Linked DNA regions of Homo sapiens: regions 2, 3 and 4 are each linked to region 1. The links are contacts of gene promoters, found by promoter capture Hi-C in human tissues and cell types (Jung and others, 2019). All regions are on one chromosome and are shown on one strand. Each heading gives the region's core, a stretch centred on a gene start or on the middle of the fragment in contact. The rest is flanking DNA. Distances are from core to core; before and after follow the strand shown.

Region 1 (2,558 bases), core at 38-2,537:
GCTCACTGTAGCCTCGACCTCTCAGGCTCAAGTGATCCTCCTATCTCAGCCTCCTGAATAGTTAGGACCACAGGCACATGCCACCACGCCCAGATAATTTGAGTTTTTGTAGAGACAAGGTCTCACTATGTTGCCCAGGCTCACCTAATTTTTACCAAACTTTTTGTAGAGACGGGGGTCTCATGTTGCTTAAATTGGTCTTGAACTCCTGGGCTCAAGAGTCATCTTATTCAATTAATAATTCTCTGTCTCCTAATTCCAGCAGACATAGAAAGACACAGAAGGCCAGCGCCATGGCTCACGCCTACAATCCCAGCAATTTGGGAGACTGAGGCTTGAGCCCAGAAGTTTACCACCAGCCTGGGCAACATGGTGAGACCCCGTCTCTCCATATATATATATAAAATAATAAAAATTATCCGGGCGTGTTGGCATGTGGCTATAGTCCAAGCTACTCAGAAGGCTGAGGTGGGAGGATCACTTGAGCCCGACAGGTGGAGGTTGCAGGGTTGCAGTGCGCCAACATCGCGCCACTGCACTCCAGCCTAGGCGACAGAGCGAGACCCTGTCTCAAAAAAACAAAAAACACCCCAAACAGAAACAACAACAACAACAAAAACCCCCACAGAAGGCAGTGAAGGCTTGGGATAGGATTACCTGGTTTAAACCCATAGAATGTCAGAATTGAAGGAAGACTTAGAGGTCACCTTTGTTTTTTTTTCTTTTGATACAGAGTCGCGTTCCGTTGCCCACCTGGAGTGCAGTGGCGCGATCACGGCTACCGCAGCCTCGACCTCCCGGGCTCAAGCGACCCTCCTGCCTCGGCCTCTCAAAGTGCTGGAGTTACAGGCGTGAGCCACTGCGCCCGGCCTAGAAGTCACCTTTCAACTTAGTCCTCTATACATGGGAAAAGTGAGGTCCAGAAAGGGTATGAGTTGTACCAGGTCGCTGACCCTGAACAGAAGCTAGATGTCTTAATTCCCAAATAGGACTCGCTGCTAACTCTTTGGGCATACCTTCGCGATTCAAGGCTCTTGGGTTTCCCGCTTTGGCCGCCTCGCCAAACCCAAGTCTTACACTCTTAGTGACCCCCTCCTTTCCTCCTTCCCCCTTAGGTCAGCAGGGTTTACTCATTCCAATTGCAATGCTCCATGTTGCCGGAGTAGCTCCTCGCTAGAAGAGAGATTAGTTATGTCACCGTCGGCTCCTCCCATTGGTCCGGGCGTGTGGAGCGCGGCGCCATGACGTCAGACGCCCAAATGAGTGGGGCGGTGAGGGGAAGGAGGAGGGAAGTAGGACTTCAACATGGCGGCTGCGGCACTGGCGGTGGCTACGGTGACGGCCTGGCCCGGAGCGGGCAGAGTTGGAGGTGGTGGCGTTCGCTCTCCCTAGGGGCTGTCGGGAGCTCAGCGGGGACCGAGCCTGGGAGGCCGGCCGGTGCCAGCACCTTTCGGCTTCTGAGACGGCGGCAGCAGCGGCATTCAGGTGAGGGGGGCCTCCCTCTGGGGGAGGGGGAAGAGGGGCGGAGTTGGGGGAGGGGGGCTGGTACTGGGAGACTGGGAAACGGGATGGGGGGCCGAGCGAGGTGAAGGGCGCCGGAGCTAGGAGGTGGGAGGGAAAAGTGGCCGGAGATCCGCGATTCGGGGAGGATTCTGGGAGAAGGGTCGGAGTGAGGGGACCGGAGTTGAAGGGGCGGAGGGGAAGTGGGATGCGGAAAAATGAGTTCGGATTAAGGAGACTAATACCCTACTGGAAGACAGGCATAGTAGACATCTATCGGGCTGGACTGAGAACTCGGTGGGAACTAGAGGATGTCAGGGAGGGGGACCCAGATTTTAGTAAAGAAGGTGAGTGGTGGGGAGTTGAGGGTGAGCTGGGGACGTGCGGTGTAGATTTAGTTCTCCCTGAGGCAATGAGATTGGGGAGAAAAGGTGGAGACTAGACCAGAGGTGAGTGATCTTTGGGGATATCTTTGGCCTTGTCTGGTCTTCTCCAGGTATGTTTATCCGCCTTTTTTGTTTCTTGGGTGGAGGCTTACCTATACAGTCCACCTGGGCCTCAGGAACCGCCCCAGTCTTTCTTGTGGAACGTCAGGTTCATTTATTTGAGCTATATCAGTGATCTTTGACCTTTGTTGCCAAATGTAATTGTTTCCAGACTAGCGTCTTAAAAGTATGGTTGGGCATAAAAATACGTTTTATGTTAAACTGAAAAAAAAATTGTTACTTTTAGTCACCATGCAGTGTTGCGAAACCAGATTTGGTAATTTAGTTAAGTATTACGTATATTCTGTTCTAACTTTACTCGTTAGTGCTTTGTCTCTTCAGTTATTAGCATTTGAGAATTTGAATAGATATGATGGATGTTTTCCTTTTTAATTTTGTCAGATTTGATGGTGGGAAAAACAAGATACTTAGTCTTTAGTGATATATAGTTCTTTCTAGTTAATGTCCCAACCTAAACTAAAAGTTTCCGTATTGGCCGGGCGCTGTGGCTCACGTCTGAAATCCCAGCACTTTGGGAGGCCGAGGCGGGCGGATCACGAGGTCAAGAGTTCA
Region 2 (2,558 bases), core at 18-2,517, 340 kb before region 1:
GTGGGAGGCGCCTATAATCCCAGCTACTCACCTACAATATTCAGTATAGTAACATGCTGTACAGGTTTGAAGCCTAGGAGCAATAGGCTATACCATATAGCCTAGATGTGTAGGAGCCTATACCATCTAGGTACAAGTATACCATTTTTGTGTAAGCATGCTGTATGATGTTCACACAATGATGAAATTGCCTAATGATGCATTTCTCAGAACATATTCCTGTCATTAGGCAACATATGACTGTAATTCAGTGGTTTTTAGTCAGAATTGTGCAATCATCACCACAGTCAATTTTAGAATATTTTGCTGGGCTTGGTGGCTCATGCCTATGATCCCAGTACTTTGGGAGGCAGAGGCACGCAGATCATTTGAGGTCAGGAGTTTGAGAGCATCCTGGCCAACATGGCAAAGCCCCATCTCTACTAAAAATACAAAAAATTAGCCAGACATGGTGGCACATGCCTGTAGTCCCAGCTACTCGGGAGGCAGAGGCAGGAGAATCACTTCAACCTGGGAGGCAGAGGATGCAGTGAGCCAAGATCATGCCACTGTACTCCAGCCTGGGCAACAGAGCAAGACTCTTATCTCAAAAAAAAAAAATATATATATATATATTCTTGAGGAAGTGTGCCTAGCAGGTAAATTTTTTGAAGCTTTATTCTAACTTTATACTTGAAATTACTTGGCTGGGTATAGAATTCTAGATTGGAAATCCTGTAGCTTTAGAATTTCGAGGACATTACTGTATTGGGTTCTTAGTTCCAAAGATGATGTTTGAAATTCAAGAATGTTCTAAATCCTGTGCATGGTATGTGAAGAGTTTTTTCTTCTGGAAGTTTGCAGGACTCTGTGTGTCCCTGATTTCTTAAATTTCACATTGCTGTAGGTACTTTTAAACTCATGTTTTTCAGCATTGGGAAATTTTCTTGAATTATTTCAAGATATTTTCTCCTCTATGTTTTTCCTCATGTTTTTTGGGGAGCACCCATTATCTGGATATAGAACAGTCTGAATTAATTCTTCTAATTAACATATCTTTTTCTCTTTTTTTTCCTTTATTTGTTTTTGAGACAGAATCTTGCTTTGTGGCTTAGGCTGGAGTGCAGGGGTGCGATCAAGGCTCACTGCAGCCTCAGCCTCCTGGGCTCAAGCGATATTCTTATCTCAGCCCCGACCATGCACAGTGCTGTGATTACAGGTATGAGCCACTGTGCCCAGCCTCTTATTTTCAGTTTAGGCAGCTGCTGCTTCTTTTTTTTTTTTTTTTTTGAGACAGGGTCTGCTCTTGCTCTGCTGCCTAAGCTGGAGTGCAGTGGTGCGAACATAGCTTACTGCAACCTCTGCCTCCTGGGCTCAAGAGATTCTCCCACCTCAGCCTCCTAAGTAGCTGAGACTGTAGGCACCTGCTACCACACCCAGCTAATTTTTATATTTTTAGTAGAGATGGGTTTTGCTGTGTTGCCCAGGCTGTTCTTGAACTCCTGAGCTCAATTGATCTACCTGCCTTAGCCTCTCATTGTGCTAGGATTACAGAGCCACCACACCTGGCCTGTTCTTGTTTTTTAATAGAGACAGTGTCTCAATATGTTGCCCAGGCTGGTCTCAAACTCTGGGCTCAAGCATTCCTCCTACAGTGTTAAGATTGCAGGTGTGATCCACTGGGCTTAGCCAACATTCTGTTTTTGATGTCTTGGTTTTGATGTCTTGATCATGGTTGTCGTTTCTCCTATTAACTCCCTGAAGACATCATGTATATACAGATATATAGGTAAATATATATAGCTTATATAGAAGTATACATAGTTTTATGTATGTGTAATTATATGTCTCATATATAAGCCATTATTTACAGTTGTCCTTCAGTATCCATAGGGGGAGTTCCAAGGACCCCCACTGATACCAAAATCTTGAATGGTCAAGTCCCTTATATAAAATGATATAGTATTTACATTTAACCTGTGCACATTCTCCCATATGCTTTATTTTTTTAATTTATTTTTTTGAGATGGAGTTTTGCTCTGTTGCCCAGGCTGGAGTGCAGTGGCAGTCTAGCTGTATTTTTTAGTTTGTATTATTTTTTATTGCTTTTTTTACTGTTTTTTTTTTCTTGTTTTTTTTTCGCTTGAATATTTTTGATCCACTGTTGGTAGAACCCAGGGATATGGAGGGCCTACTGTGTATACGTATATAATGTTTATATATATGTATGTACATATATATATACATTTTTAATACATTTTACTTTTCCTGCATGGACTGTTTTCTTCACGTTGAGTTGTATTTTAAGTGTTTCATGGTAAACTTTCCTGAGATGTTTGCTAATGTTAATCTGCTTAATAGTTTTTTTTTAAATTGAGGTGTATGTACATACAATAAAATGTGTATATCTTGGCTGGGCATGGTGGCTCACGCCTGTGATCCCAGAACTTCGGGAGGCTGAGACAGGTGGATTATGGATTCTTAATTTACTACAGTTTAGTTTATGTTAGTTGGTTTTATTACTTCCCAGGAAATGCAAGAACCGTACATTTAGCTCTTTACCTCCTTCTTGTCCTTTG
Region 3 (2,558 bases), core at 18-2,517, 290 kb before region 1:
CTGGCCTCCTTTTAGGAATTGCTGCTGAACATTTGGGAGGCTCTTTTGGAATAAATTCAAGGTGAGGTTCTTGTACTAGACAAGTGCACATGCCTGGGGGAAGCATTTCTAGCTTTGTTGATGAAACGTACTTAGCTTTGGGCTAATCCATAAGGATACTAGAATAATGCATTCTGTTTCTCAGGTTGATATATGAGGGCCCGCTAGTTTTTTTCCTTTGAGGCTACTCTTCACTATTCTATAAGTGTGCTTTTTTGTTTGTTTGTTTGTTTGTTTGTTTGTTTGTTTGTTTGTTTTTGAGACAGTCTCGCTCTGTAGCCCAGGCTGGAGTGCAGTGGCGCAATCTCGCTCACTGCTACCTCTGCTTTCCGGCTCCCAGTTCAAGCAGTTCTCCTGCTTCAGCCTTCCGAGTAGCTGGGATTACAGGCATGCGCCACCATGCCCAGCTAATTTTTGTATTTTTAGTAGAGATGGGGTTTCACCATGTTGGCCAGGCTGTTCTTGAATTCCTGACCTCGTGATCCACCCACCTCGGCCTCCCAAAGTGCCGGGATTACAGGCGTGAGCCACCGCGCCTGGCCTACTATTCTAAAAGTGTGTTTTTAAATCTCCAAATGTTTTGGGGATTTTGCAGGTATCTTTCTGTTAGGAACTTCCAGTTAAATTCCGTTGTGATCTGAAAGCAGACATTGTATGATTTCTATTTTTAAAAATTTGTCAGTATGTGCCTTATGGCCCAGAATGTGGTATATCTTCATGAAAGTTCCATGTGAACTCAAGAACAATGTGTAATCTGCAGTTACGAGTGTAGTAGTCTATAATGCTCATTATATACACTTGAAGAATGGTGTTGCTGAGTCCAGCTATGTCTTTACTTATTTTCTGCCTGCCAGCTCTGTCCATTTCAAAAAACAAAAAAACAAACAAAAAAAAATTCTGTAATCTTTTATTTGCAATATGGTTTTGCAGTGGTCTCATTTTTTCGTAGCAGCATCCCAAGCATTGAAATTGCTTTAGAGTCTTGCCATCTTAGTCATGCATCAGTTCTTTTTTTTGGCCCTGTGGATGTTGGAAGTACCTTTGCTCCAGAAACTGAGCTAACATCACCTTTAAATTACTTTTATTTTATTTATTTATTTGTTATTTGAGATGGAATCTCTGTCACCCAGGCTGGAGTGCAGTGGTGCGATTTCAGCTAACTGAACCTCCACCTCCTGGGTTCAAGCGATTCTCCTGTCTCAGCTTCTTGGGTAGCTGGGACTACAGGTGTGCACGACCACACCTGGCTAATTTTTGTATTTTTAGCAGAGACAGTGTTTCACCATGTCGGCCAGAGTGGCCTCGAACTTCTGACCCCAAGTAATCCACCTGCCTTGGCCTCCCAAAGTGCTGGGATTACAGGGTAAGCCACCATGCCCGGCCACCTTTAAATTGCTTTTAGGCAAGAAATGGAGAACTCGCTCTAGGGTCTTGAATTTGGAGTTCATTCTGTATAAATGAGCACATTGGGGCAGCTGTGTCATTTTCCACAGTCTGTTTCTTATGTAAGATATCTTAATTTTTCTTTTTCAGACAGAACAGACTGGTACTGAAATGATATATAGTTTTCTTTTTAGAAATAAGCTTTCTAAATATTGTTTAATATTTGACATAATATAAATAAACAATAGTGACTACACTGTTCTGTGTAACAACATTATCTTCCTTTTGTAGGAAAGAGTCTGTAGAAATAATTCATTGTTTCCTAAGTTCAAACTGAGTTCAGTACGCACAGCAGTATTTTGGTGTCTGTCTTAGTACATTTGCTTAGACTGGATAATATATTAACAACAGAAATTTATTGCTCACAATTCTGGAGGCTGGGAATTCCAAGACCAAGCCACCAGCACATTTGGTCTGTTGAGGGCTTGTTTTTCAAGCCTGTTTTGTTGCATCTTTATGGGAGAAGAGGCAAGGCAGTTCTCTCTTGCCTCTTTCTTTTTTTTTATTTTTAGTAGAGACAGGGTTTCACCGTGTTAGCCAGGATGGTCTCGATTGCCTGGCCTCATGATCTGCCCACCTTGGCCTCCCAAGGTGCTGGGATTACAGGCGTGAGCCACCGCACCCGGCCCTCTCTTGCCTCTTTCATAAGGGTGCTAATCCCATTCATGGGTGACACCAAAATTCAGACCATAACAATGTCCCTGTCTAATAATTAAAGGTTTTTGCCTTTACAGTTACGTGGTGTATATATAGATTTTAGATAGCAAGAGAGAAGTGAGAAGGAGCAAACTTTTGTCTTGCAATTGAGAGCTAATTACTTTTGTGTTTTTGAGATGGAGTCTCGTTCTGTCACCCAGGCTGGAGTGTGGTGGCATGATTTCAGCTCACTGCAACTTCTGCCTCCCTTCAAGGATTCTTTTGCCCCAGCCTCCTGAGTAGCTGGGACTACAGGTGTGCACCACCACACCCAGCTAAGTTTTGTATTTTTAGTAGAGACAGTGTTTCACCATATTGGTCAGGCTGGTCTCTAACTCCTGATTGTGATCCTCCCACCTCGGCCTCCCAAAGTGCTGGGG
Region 4 (2,558 bases), core at 39-2,538, 270 kb before region 1:
TATTTGGTTTTCTTCTCCATAACCACGTGTACTCAAGACTATTGTTCAGCACCTCAATGGACATATTTATAACATAAAGTGGCAAATGGAGCACTTTTGTAACTTGAAGAATAAGGGACTCCAGTTACCTTCAAGAGTCTAAGTCAGTCTGTATTATCAGATCTGGTGAGTAGTGAGAGTTAGCCAACCTGAAAAGGAAGAATTTTAGGGATGCAGAGAATCAGCCAACTGGTGTTCACTAAAGGCTCGGTAGCTTGCTACCTCTTGGGAAAACCAGCATACTTCTTTTGAAAGAAAACATCCACAGGCCTCCTCCTCCCAGAGGCCCAGGATTAAATTGGTGGGGCTGGAGGTGGTGGGGAGAGTTTCTTCCTGAATTGGAAAGTTTTAAGGAGTAGGCATTTGTCAGCAAGAATGGAGTTGGGAGTTGCCACACGTCTTTGATTAGAAGTTCACAGCATTATGCCTCTTCCTGATGGAGGAAACAAAATGTGCCTTAATACATGATTTGTCTAGAATGATGTGGGAGCTTTGGGGATAGGGTAGGGTGGGAGTGGGAGTAGCAAAGCCCTCAGACTTTGCTATAGAGTTCACAGCTGCTTTCTGTGAGACACCATCCCCAGAACTACTATCTGCTATAGGCTCTGGGATGGTGAAGTGGTCTTGGTGTGGATTTGCTTTATGTTGAAAGAGGCATACATAATGTTTTCTTTTTCAATTTCAAAAATAAAGCGTGAAACCAAATTTATTAACCCAATCAAGAGAGGCTGTTGTTTGGTATAAAAGAGTCTGTCTCAGAAGTGGGGTAGGATATTTTTCTGTCTAGTCTTAAGAACAGAGAGCCAGAGACATCACCCCTAGCATTGGGTGCCAAAGTAAGCACAGTCAGGGGAAACAGGCATAACCATGCTGTTCCTAAAGCTCTTTTAAACCCAATTCTGGAACAGTGTGGTTTTATTTATTTGCTTCCTTGGTTTTTGTGCATGGGGTCCCACTGCCCTCAACCTGCCAATTCCATTCTCTGCAGATGATACATAATTTGGGCATTTAAAAACTGTAGTTGTATTCCTACCTTGCATTCTCAGGGATACATCAGTCAGCAGCAGATCCAGCACTGCACAGAAGGAGGTGTTATATTTGTTGGTTGCTTTAGCAGCCTAAAGAGAAACTTTATAATAATGTAAACCCGTTAAGCTACTATATTTTACCATCAGTTGCCCTGTTTTCCCTATCATAACAGGCTTCTTTATTCTTTGTCATGATGTCCTCTTTAAATCCCTCCCCCACATTGAAACATGCAATGAGGACTGAGCTTTAACTAGTCATCTGTAGTTACTGGCCCATCCTTTGATAGAGTGGAAATGAGAGATTTTAAGGACCCAGGACAACTAGAAAGGTCAGGGTAGAACCCAGAGTCAGTAAGAGTGGTAGTAACAGTATGCAGGATTTAGGTTTGGCTCCAGAGACCTGGACTTCACACATCAACTGTCATCACATTACGCTGGGTCTATAAAACTCAATATCTAAATCAATCTGCGTGTGTGTTTGTGTGTGTGCACATGTGCATACATGCATGCTTGCCCATGATTATGGCGTGAAGTAAGTTCAGGTTTTGTTGTTGTTGTTGTCGTCGTCGTCGTTGTTGCTGTTGTTGTTGTTGTTGTTGTTGTTTTGAAATGGAGTTTTGCTCTTGTTGCCCAGCTGGAGTGCAATGGTGCGATCTCAGCTCACTGCAAACTCCGTCTCCTGGGTTCAAGCAATTCTCCTGCCTCAGCCTCCCAAGTACTTGGGATTACAGGCATGCACCACCATGCCCAGCTGATTTTGTATTTTTAGTAGAGACAGGATTTTTCCGTGTTAGTCGGGCTGATCTTGAACTCCCAACCTCAGGTGATCCGCCCACCTCGGCCTCCCAAAGTGCTGGGATTATACTTGTGAGCCACCACACCTGGCATAAGCTTAGATTTTTTGGTTTTTAGGAATAAGCCCTTTCTACTTCTCCCATGCTGTCTGGAGGGATGATATATACATGGGAGGTGGGACCAGGGGAAGGTGCCAGTCTGTAATCCTTCAAAATTATGAACTTTTCTTGCTTGGTTTCCAGGCAGACCCTCGAGCCAGGTCTTATTTGTGATGCTAGGGCTATCACAACCCTGTTAAAGTTATGCTTATGGTGACATAGTAGCTAACAGAGAAAGGGTTATCGACATGTTGAAAATGGGCAAATGGAGTATTACGCATTGGGTCATACAATCCTAATTTCCAATTTCCCTTAAATACTTCTTTAGGCCAGGCGCAGTGGCTCATGTCCTTAATCCTAGCAACTTGGGAGGCCAAGGCAGGTGGATTGCTTGAGCCCAGGAGTTCAAAACCAGCCTGGGCAACATGACGAGATTCCATCTCTACCAAAAAAATTAGCCAGGCATGGTAGTGTGCACCTGTAGTCCCAGCTACTCAGGAGGCTGAGGTGCAAAGATCACTTGAGCCCAAGTGGTCAAGGCTTCAGTGAGCTGTAATTCTGCCACTGCACTGGAGCCTGGGGGCCGGGTGAGACCCAA

Evidence for each region. The method cuts DNA at HindIII sites, captures the fragments that hold promoters and counts their contacts. A contact is called where the count stands out against the background at its distance.
Region 2: a fragment that was not itself captured here is called in contact with the fragment with the promoter of UBAP1 in region 1 in 2 of the 25 tissues and cell types used here (dorsolateral prefrontal cortex and hippocampus).
Region 3: a fragment that was not itself captured here is called in contact with the fragment with the promoter of UBAP1 in region 1 in 1 of the 25 tissues and cell types used here (dorsolateral prefrontal cortex).
Region 4: a fragment that was not itself captured here is called in contact with the fragment with the promoter of UBAP1 in region 1 in 3 of the 25 tissues and cell types used here (mesenchymal stem cells, spleen and thymus).

Annotation. Positions count from the first base shown.
Region 1 is chr9:34,177,756-34,180,313 of GRCh38, forward strand. UBAP1 (ubiquitin associated protein 1) reads left to right here and starts at 1,288. Exons shown (of 7, transcript NM_016525.5): 1 at 1,288-1,485. RefSeq lists enhancers at 337-1,295, 1,101-1,530, 1,296-2,252, 2,253-2,558. The HindIII fragment of the contact is 11,539 bases long and covers 1-2,558 here.
Region 2 is chr9:33,836,170-33,838,727 of GRCh38, forward strand. All of the region lies in intron 1 of UBE2R2 (ubiquitin conjugating enzyme E2 R2), which reads left to right. Among named protein-coding and RNA genes, the nearest start is that of UBE2R2-AS1, 19 kb to the left of the region's middle. The HindIII fragment of the contact is 6,070 bases long and covers 1-2,558 here.
Region 3 is chr9:33,887,394-33,889,951 of GRCh38, forward strand. All of the region lies in intron 2 of UBE2R2 (ubiquitin conjugating enzyme E2 R2), which reads left to right. Among named protein-coding and RNA genes, the nearest start is that of SNORD121B, 46 kb to the right of the region's middle. The HindIII fragment of the contact is 8,086 bases long and covers 1-2,558 here.
Region 4 is chr9:33,904,468-33,907,025 of GRCh38, forward strand. The region is part of intron 3 of UBE2R2 (ubiquitin conjugating enzyme E2 R2); the gene reads left to right. Among named protein-coding and RNA genes, the nearest start is that of SNORD121B, 29 kb to the right of the region's middle. The HindIII fragment of the contact is 6,422 bases long and covers 1-2,558 here.